Regions from separate parts of the Homo sapiens genome. Here region 2 is linked to region 1. Evidence: promoter capture Hi-C in 16 types of primary human blood cells and fetal thymus (Javierre and others, 2016). All regions are on one chromosome and are shown on one strand. Each heading gives the region's core, a stretch centred on a gene start or on the middle of the fragment in contact. The rest is flanking DNA. Distances are from core to core; before and after follow the strand shown.

Region 1 (5,869 bases), core at 1,767-4,266:
AGGCACCCATGAAACAGTCTGGCCACTTTTCTACAGGGCTGCTCTGGTATGCTTAGGGCCTGCTCCAGTCCCTAGTCACCTCAGATTTTCCAGAACTTGGAGGTGTCACCAGTGAAGGTTATGATACAGCAAATATGGCAGCCTGTCCCTCCCCCTGGGAGCTTTGTCCCAGGGAGGTATGGACCTGTTGCTGGCCCAAAGGCACCTGTAGGAAGTGGCTGAAGACCCTGGTTGGGAGGTCCCACCTAATGAAGAGGAACAGGATGGGGCACACTTAAAAAAGCAGTCTGGCCACATTTCTGTATAGCAGCTGTGCTGTGCTGGGGGTCCACTTCAGCTCCTGGTCACCTCAGACACTCTACAACCCAAAGGCTGGAAGAGCTAAGTCAGCCAAACAGCAAAGATGGCAGCCCATCCCTCCCTCTAAGAGTGCCATCCCAGGGGGAATTCAGATCTCTGTCACAGCTGAAGAGCTCAGGCAGGGTGGCTGGAGGCCCTGGTTGGGAGGTCACACCCAGTGAGTAGGAATGGGATTGGGCACCCACTTAAAGCAGCAGTCTGGCCACATTTTGGTAGAGCAGCTGTGCTGTGCTGGGGCATCCTTACCGCCCCAGGTCGTCTCAGACTCTCCAAACCCTGAAGGCTGGAACAGCTAAAGCTCCTGAACAGCAAAGATGTTGGCCTACCCCTCCCCTGGGAGCTCCTACTTAGGCAGGTGCTATGTTGCTACTGGTAGCTGGGTGGAATTCCAAGCCAGTGGGTCCTGTCTTGTGTGAGGTGTTGTGGAAGTGGGCCCTGCGGGCTGTTGCTGCTCAGCCCTCTGGATTCAGCCTCTTTCTTAGGGGTATGAATGGGAGTCTAAACTCCCTCTTTGTGGGAGATGCAGCTACTTTTGCCAGAACGCCCAAGTATCTAAGCCTCCAGGGTCTCCACGCATGCCTGAGTGGCTGCTTTGCTGAGACTCCATGTAGCCCTGTCTGCCAGACTGAAGACTGAAGGCCCTGCTGCTAGTGGAGTGGATTCACAAGGAGATCTCCTGACAGGAGGGTTGCAAAGATCTGTGGGAGAAGCATGGTTTCCGGGGTCGCTCATTCACTTACCACTTCCCTGGGCAGGGGAAGATCCCCTGGTTCCCTGTTGCTCCCAGGTGGGCTGTTGTCCTGTCTTGCTTTTCCTTGTTCTCTGTGGGTCAGGTTGTTTCCTTGATTAATCCCAATGCGAGTACCCGGATGTTTCAGTTGAAGGTGTTGTATCTACTCGTCCCTTCTGTTCCTCTCCGTGAGAGCCATGTACATTACCTGCTTCTGGTCAGCCATCTTGGCCACTCCCCATCCTTATGAAAGTTTACACTGTATTACAATTGCACAGGAAAGTTACTGCAGGTTTGGGAGTGGGACAGAGGATAGAGGATGTTGGCTTGTTTTGTCAAGAGAGTGACATTCTTAAGTCTATGTTGGTGGTGGGGACAGATAGGAGGCAAGAAAATCAGTTAGGAAATTATTGAAACAATTCAGCCCCAGATAATCGAAGCTTATCAAGAGCAGCAGTGTGAGAATGCAGAGAAGTGGACAGTTGCCAGAAACATCTCAGAGGTAAACATGGCAGGCCTGGAAGATGAAAACCTTCAGTGCCTGGCAACTGAGGGGTTGGAAATACTCCAATCTCAGAAAAGAGAATACTGGGATTGGAGGTGGGGGCCAAGCTGGGAGAAAGATTTCAATGTCTTGCAGAATATAGAGAGGGGTTGATGAGAATAACAGCCGAAGAGCCCAGGGGAATTCCCAGGTTAAAAAAAAAAAGCCCCACAGAGATCAGAAGGGCAAATCCTCAATCTAGAGCCACAGAAGTGAAGATTTGGCTCTAGACTCTGAAGTCAGCTCTCCTACGGAAAAAAGATGGACCCAGGCCTTTTTAACTCAGGCAGCCCCCATGGAGGAGAGAGATGGTCCTCCTCAGTTTCTGCACGTTCCAAATGAAAGGGTCCTTCTGTGTAGAATGAGAGATCTGGAGAGTCCTGGGTAAAATCTCAGACATAATTCTTTCTTCTGAGAAACCAGCTTTTTGCTTACTGCCTTGAGGAAAACCTTGTCTATCTTTCTTTCTTCCTCTTGTTTTCCCCCTCAGTAGAATCCTGTGAAAAGAAGTCTTTGGGTATCACAATGTGTAAAACAGTTAAGAATGTAGCCACTGTCTTGTCACAGTGGGGTCTGCGGACCTGGCCTCTCTCTTCCCGTCCTCTACAACCAAAGATTTCCTCTGCGCAGTTGTAAAAATGTGGAATGTCCTAATGCACATAAATAGGTCTGAGATTTTAAAATAAATGAAACAAATATAATATGGAAAGTCTAAGTGGATTCCCAAGACCATTTCCAGGTCTCCCCTCTATGTTTCTCCTTGAGGGTGTCTTAAACACAACATCTCACACATATTTTTAAGCGGAAGACAGTGGGCTGGGTGCGAACATCTTGTTTGTGGCCTCCTGTAAGCATTCTTGGAAAAAGAAACGTACTTGTCTTTCTGATTATAAAATAAGCAAAAGCTCAACGTAAAGAATTTGGCAACTCCAGAGAGTATAAAATAAGAAAACTAATTGGTAACTCCGACGCCACTCCAGAAATAAAAATGAGCATTCGCGGAGAATCCTTCCAGTCTCCTTACCGAGGCCGGCTAGGGACCTGAATCTGAAGCTCCTCGCCCCGGGGCCAGCTCCTGCGGCAGCCGCTGGCTCGAGGCCCGGGAAGGGGCGCTGAGGGGAAGGCGCCCCCCAGGGAAGGTCTCTGAGGAGACGGCCGGAGGCGGGGCCGCCCCAGGGGACTCGGCGGCGACGCAAGGAGAAAGATCCGAGGAGCTGGAGGAGCCGTGAGGCGCGTGGAGTCTGCAAGGTCCCGGAGCCCTCCCGGCCCTCGCGGGAGAGCAGGGTCGAGGCGCGCCACGCGGGCGGCGCCAGGGAGGGGCGGGCAGGCGTGGCTCAGCCAGTGCCCCGGCCAGAGGCGCCCGGCGCCCCGCGCACACCTCAGAGGCCTGCGCCGCCGTCCCGCCGCCTCCACGCCAGGCTCCCGGCGCGGCGATGGGCGCGGGCCCCTGTCTCTGCCCCGGCCCGCCCCTTCCCGCCCCTTCCAGCCCCGCGAACGCGCGAGACGCCGGGGGACCGTGGGCGTCCTGCACATAGCAGCGGGCTTGGCGCTTCTCGGCGGTCCGACGCTGATGAGGTGAGCACAGCGACCTTAAGGATCCACAAAACTTCAAACACTTAATTATTAAGTGAAAGTGGAAAGGGGGAGGGGCTTTCTCTCCCTTTCCAGAATCTGGGCAGTTTGTTTGGAACCGGTAAAGAAACTCTCATAGGAACTTGAGGTGAGCAGGGGTCACGCATCAGGGATGCGAGTGGCAATTTCAGTGGAAGAGACGGGAGAGTACTGTAATTTGGTGTGAAGATGGGGCCGTGGGTTTTCTGCTGAATAAGCGACCGGCTGTGCTGAAAATGAGAGATCCCGAAACAGTTTCCCACCGCCTGTAGACTTTCCAGAGTCTCCTCACGCCGAATCTGCTTTGCAGGGCATGTTCACCCCCAGGGTGTAGAGTGGCGGGCACGATGGGCTCCCCCATGGAGATTGCAAAGTCCTGAAAAGGGACAATTGTATTGCACTGCGTCTGTTGAACTGCCTTGCTTCTGGGCATGAGGGAGTCACCTGGAAGCTGCAACATCCTTGTACCCTGGCAAGCAGCCCTTTCCAAGTTAGCTCTGTCAGAAACTAGAGGCCTCTAGGTAGAACTCAAGGTATCCATGTACTCGTGAAGAATACAAACCTTGAGGTTTTTAAAATCGAATTTTGTTAAGATTTCAGGATAGAAATCTGGGAAGAGAAGTCATGGCATGGCATAACTTACCCCTTTGTTAGTTTTCTAGGTACATGCATGCTTGAATTAGAGGTAAATGATGCCCTAGCCTATCATAAAATGTCTTTCCTGGTGTAGTTCTTTAAACCAGAATATGGAGGATAACATTACATTTTTGCATCCTAGATAAAAGGGAAAGATTTTCAGATGGGGCTTACACAGCGGGAGAAATTGTTGATATAGTTGTATTAGGCAGCAAGGCCTGCAAAGAAAAACTTCTTTTTCTCCACCAGTGGCTGAATTCTGCACAGAATGTCTCCTCGCAGTCTGGGTAGCAGCCCGGCTTGCAAAAACAGTGCTTCTTTCATTGCTGCAGGTGGGGCAAATGCGCTTGCGGATAAATGGCTGGGGAAGCGTTTGCTTACAGGTTAAGGCAATTTGAGTCTGGAGAATAAAGTGCTTTAGCAGGCTGTGCTTGAGTTAGGTGTCCCTTGTGAGGAATAGAGGTGGCTTTCTGGTCCCCATTTTGCCAGCCTAATTCCCCTTCAGGGACACTACTGTCTCTGGAATGTTCCCTCTGTTTCCCCTTCTCTTCCACCCCCAGCTTTTAGCTTCTCCCCATTCCCCAGTAAAGTCTAGAATTGAGCCTGGTCAGAGTCAAAGTTCTGATAGCCTAGGGATATAGAACTTCAAGCCTGGTGAAGGCAGAAATGAGACCTAGGAGAGACCCAAGATGGGTGAGATGAAACAACTTTCAGCCTAGAAGGCTCTCAAAAGAGTGGAAAAATAATGATTGAGGGAAACAGATTCTCTGGAAAGGAGAATAGGTGCTTAAGTGTTTGTTTTCAGCTGAGGGTTTTAATATTTCCATTTTTGTTGTTTAACCATAAGGGAATTTCCATTATAGGGTAGGAGGAGGATGAGGCCTTCTCTGAAAACTGCATCCTTCTCCTTGAATTTGCATTTTATTCCATTCTTATGTAGGTTTCAGAGATTAATTGGGGGAAGGGGGAGAGAGGAAAGAAGCCAGAGGCTCTGACATGCTGCAGAAACAGTGCAACGTGGACTGACTTGGGCTGCAAAGGTGGATTTGGGGGTTGAAAGAAATGTTCTACATTTAGTTGAAAAAAAAAAATCAGAGCCTTTATTTTGCAAAGGTCTTGAGAATCAGAACATTCATGTTTAGTTGCTGATGAATTTTGCCTGATAAAGGATGCAAATCACTATCTCACCTTTTTTTCTCCAGTACTTTATTATGAAAAATTTTAGACATACAGAGATGTTTTCTACCTCTCATTTTATAAACTTATTATCTTAAAACAAACTTGTTAATAAAAATCAGTGTTTAGAATCCAGACATATGTGATCTGGTCCTGGACAGAGCTTGAATCAGAAGGTGTTTCAAATATAGATGTGTGAAGGATATTAACATTTTAAGAAAAAAATATGGATCTTATTCTTCTGACTTTCCCATAAGAATCTTGAGCAGACCCCTTAACTGCCTTCTTTTTCCCATTCTTAAAATGTCAGTCAGTTGGATGATATTACTCTCCTGCTTAACACCCTCCAATGGCTTCCCCTCACACTGTGAATAACATTCAACTCTCCACCAGGGCTTGTGATTTGGTCTGGTGCCCTCATATTCTATGGCCGTCCTCTTGCTTACCATCGTCCTTGCTCTTCCCTCTGCCTGAACACTCTTCCTTCAGACACTGCCACTGCTTCTTTTCTCAGCTCATTCCAGTTTCTTTTCATACTCTCCAGAATGATGGCCACCTGATCTAAAACAGCCTGTGGTCACTCCCTGTCTTCTGACCCTGCTTTATCCTTCTTCATGGCACTTAGCACTCCCTGACACTATATAGTATATGTGTTTCCTTGTTAATTGGGCATGTTCCCCACTCTAATGTAAACTCCATCAAGACAAGGAATTTTTTTGTCTTATTTATGGCTGTGTTCCTATTTGGTATATTATGAGCAATTAATAAATAACTGTTGGATTAATTAGGTAACTAAATTACACAAATAAGGC
Region 2 (6,068 bases), core at 1,389-3,888, 230 kb after region 1:
GATGGCAGCAGGCAAAGAGAGAGCTTGTGCAGGGAAACTCCCCCTTATAAAACCATCAGATCTCATAAGACTTATTCACTATCATAAGAACAGTATGGGAAAGATGTGCCCCATGATACAATGTGGGTCCCTCCCACAACACGTAGGAATTTTGGCAGCTACAATTCAAAATGAGATTTGGGTGGGACACAGCCAAACCATTCAGGGGCCGTTTAATGTAATTATATAGTAGCTTTTTAATAGCCAGTTTTATCTTTTCCTTGTGGGTGCACATGTGTTTTGCCCACTAACTCATTGATGTGGTTGGTCCTAGCAATAGTAGTCCCTATTACTACAAATGTGCTAAGTAACTGTGAATGGGAAATCCACATTACCAAATTGTTAGAATTGTTCTTTGAATGAAATTACTGATTTTAATCATTAGATTGTAAGGAAGGTCTGGGGATTACATCTGTAAAGTGTACTCTGTGATAGATGTAGTTTTCTTTTTCTTTTGAGCCAGTGTCTCACTCTGTCGCCCAGGCTGGAGTGTAGTGGCGCGATCTGGGCTCACCACAACTTCCGCCTCCCAGATTTGAGTGATTCTTCTGCCTCAGCCTCCCGAGTAGCTGGGATTACAGGCTCCCGCCAACACACCCGGCTAATTTTTGTATTTTTAGTAGAGAAGAGGTTTCACCATGTTGGCCAGGCTGGTCTCGAACTCCTGACCTCAGGTGATCCACCCACCTCGGCCTCCCAAAGTGCTGAGATTACAGGCATGAGCACCATGCCCGGCCTATAGTTTTCTACTGCTGTTTTACTTAGAATGTAGAGCTCTATAGTAGAGCTCTGTAGTTAGACTGCTTTAGAATCCCAGCTCTAACACTTACGAACTCTGACCTTGAACAAATGACTTACCTAAGAGCTTTCTTCATCTTTAAGTTGGTGATAATAATAGTACCTATCTCACACGGCTATTGAGGTTAAATGATGTAATGCATGAAAAACATAGCTTGGTACAAACTAGGTACTTACTCAGTAAACAGCTGTTAATAATTATTTTCTCCCTGCCTCCAGGATTTTGATTTTCTAAGCTTGATGTTTTTGGAAGTCTTCTTGATTAGAAAGATGTTACTATATTTGAAAAGGGAATAGAGTCAACTAGAGTCATATTGCAAATTTTATGTGTCTGAGAGTGTAATGAGAATTTGCAGCATATGTAAACAAGTAGATTTATTTTTCTGAGGTAGGTCCATGGATTGTTAACAGTGGTTTAGGGAAGGTTAATGTGTTTAAAAATGAGAGGTAAAAAATAACCTAGAATTACCATATGGGATATTTTACTTGGGGTGCGTTGGGGGTTACTGTGGACTAGCTATTTTAGGACAGGAAATTAACATAACCTGGTGAGGCTCATGAATCTTTCAGCCTTAGTATCAGAACTACTCGGTAACCTGTAATTTAACCCATGGCAGTACTTGGAGGGCAGGAAGTTAGGGTTTGTGCCTGGTCTGAGAAAGCCTATTTTCACCTTTTTATGAGACTTGTGCTCTTAAAAGACAGAGAATGAAATTATCTAAGACATTTGACAACCATCAATTTAGTCATTTTCTTCCTTCTGTCAAATAAATTGTACTATTCTTTTAAACATTTTAGAGCCCTGTTGAAAATTTGCACCTTTTTTATATAGTAAAACATCAATGGATGGAAAATCCTGTTTTCTGGGGTAGCCCTCTTTATTGAACTTCTCTAACACCCACAGATCCCGTTTATAAAGAAGAGGCACATTTAGTATGTTTAAAAATAGTGAACTCTTTCCTTCTGTGAATTTCTCAGGATGTGTTAATGGTGTTTAAAGTTTAATGCTGCTAAACCCACACAGGAATTTTCACTGGTTTTAAATGCCACAAAAACAGTTTTTACTTTTGTTGATAGCTGGTTTAGTAAAAAGACCTTGTTGTTAAATTCAGGAATGATTTAACAAATTATTAAAGGTTTCATTGCTTTTTTCAAAATACTTCCTATTTGCAAGTCTCTTCATATCTGCAGTCATACCAAATTACTCATATCTTTTTTTTTTTTTTTTGAGATAGAGTCTCACTCTGTCGCCCGGGCTGGAGTGCAGTGGCATGATCTCTGCTCACTGTGACCTCCGCCTCTTGGGTTCAAGTGATTCTCGTGCCTCAGCCTCCTGAGTAGCTGGGATTACAGATGCCCACCACCACACCTGGCTAATTTTTGTATTTTTCGTAGAGATGGGGTTTTGCCATGTTGGCCAGGCTGGTCTCAAAGTCCTGACCTCAGGTGATACACCCGCCTCAGCCTTCCAAATTGCTGGGATTGCAGGCGTGAGCCACCGCGCCTGACCCAGTATAGTGCTTTTTATAATTAATTGTGTACTTTTAAAAAACCTTTATTCATGATAAAGTAAATCCAGTCTACTGAGTGGCTGTGCTATATCTTTAACAGCTATTTTATCTTTATTTCCTTCAGTGTTACAGCTTCCCTACATAGTACAGATTATGTTACCTAATTAAATAGTTGAGCTATGTCCCATTCTAGTTAAGAAAACTGTCCTGTTGCCTATTTTCATCTGATTAAAATTTTCTGACTTTCTTTCAATATCTGTTTTTTTGTAAACCAGCCTATTCAGTTTTATGTCCCAACGTCCTGTTCTCTTGCTTGCCCACTGATTTTTTTCTCCATCATTAAAAAAAAAAAAAAAGAAATTGATAGACAGCATCTGGAGTGTCCTAGACCCTACTAGACCTGGTGTTTGGCCCACTGATTTCTTCTCAAAATGATTGTATCCTGTAGTTTAATTTAGCTACAGTGACCCATAACACTTCACTCAAACTGCTTTTCTGCCTCTCAGATTGTTTCCTCAGTCTTGCCTGCAGAGCACTTCTCTACCTCTCCAGCCACCTACCCCGTTTAAGTGTTTATATTTTGACCTCAGCCATTTGTTCATACTCTGCCTACCTTCCTTCTACCCTAGTGATCTGGTTTATGAAAAACTAGATATTAATTCTACTGCTTTGACCAGATCTAGTCCTCTAACCCAGATCTTTTCAGAATCCTAGACCTGCAGGAATTACCACCTACATGTTCCACAGCTACTTTAAACTGAACATGTTAAAACTGAACTCATTTTCTCTCCTGACCTTCTCTCCTCCCCTAAACAGAATGAAACCTCTATATTCTTCTTCTTCCTCTCTATCTTGGTAAATGGCACCATTATCCATAGACGCCCCTGGCTTCCTTCCCAGGAACCAAAGTTGTTTCCTCCTTACACCTAGTTCTCCACCAGTAGTCATTCTTCAAGTCTACCCCCTAAATATCTTTGGAACCTATTCCTCTTCATTTACTAGAGCCTTCACTTTAGTTTAGGACCTTATCACTCTGCCTAGACCAGAGGTTTGCAAACTATAGCCCATAAAGCCAAATACGGCTAGCCGTCTGTCTTTGTAAATCAAGTTTTATTAGAATGCAACTTCTGTGGTTTAGATATGGTTTGTTTTTCAGCATTAAAACTTGTTTCGATCATCAATGTGGCAGTGTTAAGAGATGAGGCCTGGTGGGAGATGTTTTGTTTCATGGGGGGTGGATCCCTCATGAATGGCTTTGTACCTTTTTGTAGCAGTGAGTGAGTTCTTGCTCTGGTGGTACTAGATTAGTTCTCATGGGAATGGGTTAATTCTGAGATAATGGATTGTTATAAAGCCAGGATGCCGCCAGATTTTTTGTCTTCACATCTGACCACTTCCCCTTTGAGCTTCTTTGTCATTTTGTGATGTAGCATGAAAGTCCTCACCAGAAGCCAGGGCCATGCCCTTTAAATTTCCTAGCCTGTAGAACTGTGAGGTGAATAAACCTTTTCTTTATAAATTACCCAGTCTCATGTATTCTGTCATAGCACTACAAAATGGATTAAAGCAGCTGCCTTGCTCATTAGTTTATGTATTAATTGTCTATTGCTATTTTTATGCTACGAAGGCAGAATTTTGTAGTTGTGACCGAGACTGTATGGCTTGCAAAGCCCGAAATGTTTACTGTCGGGCCTTTTACAGAAAAGGTTTGCCTACCCTTGGGCTGTTACTTATTTTCTGTCTCCAGCCTTGTCTATTCTTCTGTCCTACCCCAGGTAAACATTCAGAAGTCTGATCATATATCCCCCCATATGAATCTTTTATTTACTACTCATTTGTTACAGAATAAAGCTTAAGTCCTTTATCATGGTGTAAGATCTTTGGCTACCTTTCTGGGTTTGTCTTCTGTTCAGAAGGCATGTGGATTTGTCTCTAGTATATGCTTTTACCTCTGCCTTAAATGTTCTCTCTTCTCTTTCTCGTCAACTTACCTGTCTCTCAACATCTAATACAGATGCTACCTTCCCAGGAAGTCTTCTGACATTCCAGATTTTTCTTTTTCTTGCTTCCTTCATACCCTCTACCGCTTTTGTTGTATTTAACATTGTGCAGCTTTTATCCATTTGACCGTATTTCCTTTGTAAATTTTAAAACCACCCAGGCCAGGCCTGGAGCCACATTCACTGAATATTCCCTCAAGAAGTGTCTGTTGACTGAATAAATGGATTGCTTTTGTGTTAGACTCTTCCTAACTAGTCAGTCAGAGCAAGGATTATGTCTCATACAATTTTTACATTCTCTGATTGTATCTAGGGACATGCTAGATTCATAGTAGGTACAGATACTGATTAAATTGTTGATTTGAATTGTCATGTAGATAAAGTGAAGAGACAGATTCATTTTGGAGGGTTGGACATTCATCAAATTGAGACTGTCTAGCAAAACCCATTAAAAAGGAACTAGATTTGCCTTAGCTACTAACTTTTCCCTTGACATGTATAGGGATTTTTTCCCTTTTCTGTACTTGGGAATTTGATTGACTTTCATTGAATGTTTTGTGTCATTGGTTAGGCATCATATGATCTGTTTTATGTAGTGCAAATATAAGTGACAATTTAGATGGAATGTGCTAAGTTGATGTATTAACATAGGGCAGAGTCATACTAAAAGTACTGTTATTCTGGGTATAAATGGGAGCAGAAATGGAGTGTTACCAATGACATTAGCTGTTAGGATCCATACCTTTTCTTAACTGGATTAATTTGCCTGTTTGTGGTACCTAGGTGCCAATTCTGGTAGGACTCCTAGTAGCAGCAGTAGCAGCAGTAATAAACACCTATCTAGTGCATTTTTTATGTGCCAACTACTGTTCTAAGCACAGTACATAAATTAACTCATTTAGTCTTCATAACAACCCAATGAGATAAGATTCTATTATCCCTGCTTAACAGATGAGGAGCCTGAGGCACAGGGAACTGAAATAAATAAACTTGGCTAAAGTAATACAGTTAGTAAGTGGCAGAGCCAGTATTTAACCCAGGCTGTCTGGCTCCAGAGTTTATGCTCTTAGTGACTATGCTAGACTTTGTATGAGTCTTGGAACAATTTGAATGCACAGTTCTTGCATTCCTTTTGTTCCCCTCTAAGAGAAACTCTGGAGTTTTGGAACAGAGGAGGAAATGAGGAAATACTAAATGGTTAAAGGTAGGTTTATTTTTAAAAGGCACTTATATCACATTCTATATTTATTATGAGTAGTTGTAGGACTCCTTTTTAGCATCATTCTGTTTTTATCTTTTCCTATAAGTTGAGGTAAGAGTTTGGTTTTCTTTTACCTTATCTGTAGCCAGTTGATGCTTACTAAATGATTGGCTTTAACGGTTCTAGACATTGTAATTGTATTTACATAGTTCTGTGAAGAACTGTGAAGATACGTAGTTCATATATTTGGAAGTGTATTAACAATTGTGGTAATCAAGAGGAAATCATCATTAGAGCTGGACAGCATTGATATTCTAGGTGTTGCTTTTAACAGGCTTAAAAAACACTTGGAGGTAGAACATATACAGCAGATTGCATAAAGCCTAAGTGTACTGCTCAGTGAATACAACACCCAGATCAAGTTAAGTACAGAACATCTTCATCATTATTCCAGAAGGCTTTCATGTGTCCTTTCCCAGTCAACAAATACCCTACCAGTTATGTTGCTTTGTTTTTAAA

Evidence for each region. The method cuts DNA at HindIII sites, captures the fragments that hold promoters and counts their contacts. A CHiCAGO score of 5 or more calls a contact.
Region 2: a contact is called between a fragment that was not itself captured here and the fragment with the promoter of GPR156 in region 1, in 1 of 17 cell types (neutrophils). The highest score is 5.1, in neutrophils.

What each region holds. Positions count from the first base shown.
Region 1 is chr3:120,282,369-120,288,237 of GRCh38, reverse strand. It overlaps GPR156 (G protein-coupled receptor 156), which reads left to right and starts at 3,016. Exons shown (of 10, transcript NM_153002.3): 1 at 3,016-3,209. LOC124909418 (a long non-coding RNA gene) reads right to left here and starts at 3,082. Exons shown (of 2, transcript XR_007096029.1): 1 at 1,101-3,082. The HindIII fragment of the contact is 9,811 bases long and covers 1,533-5,869 here.
Region 2 is chr3:120,047,764-120,053,831 of GRCh38, reverse strand. All of the region lies in intron 1 of GSK3B (glycogen synthase kinase 3 beta), which reads left to right. Among named protein-coding and RNA genes, the nearest start is that of MIR6529, 34 kb to the left of the region's middle. The HindIII fragment of the contact is 3,126 bases long and covers 1,076-4,201 here.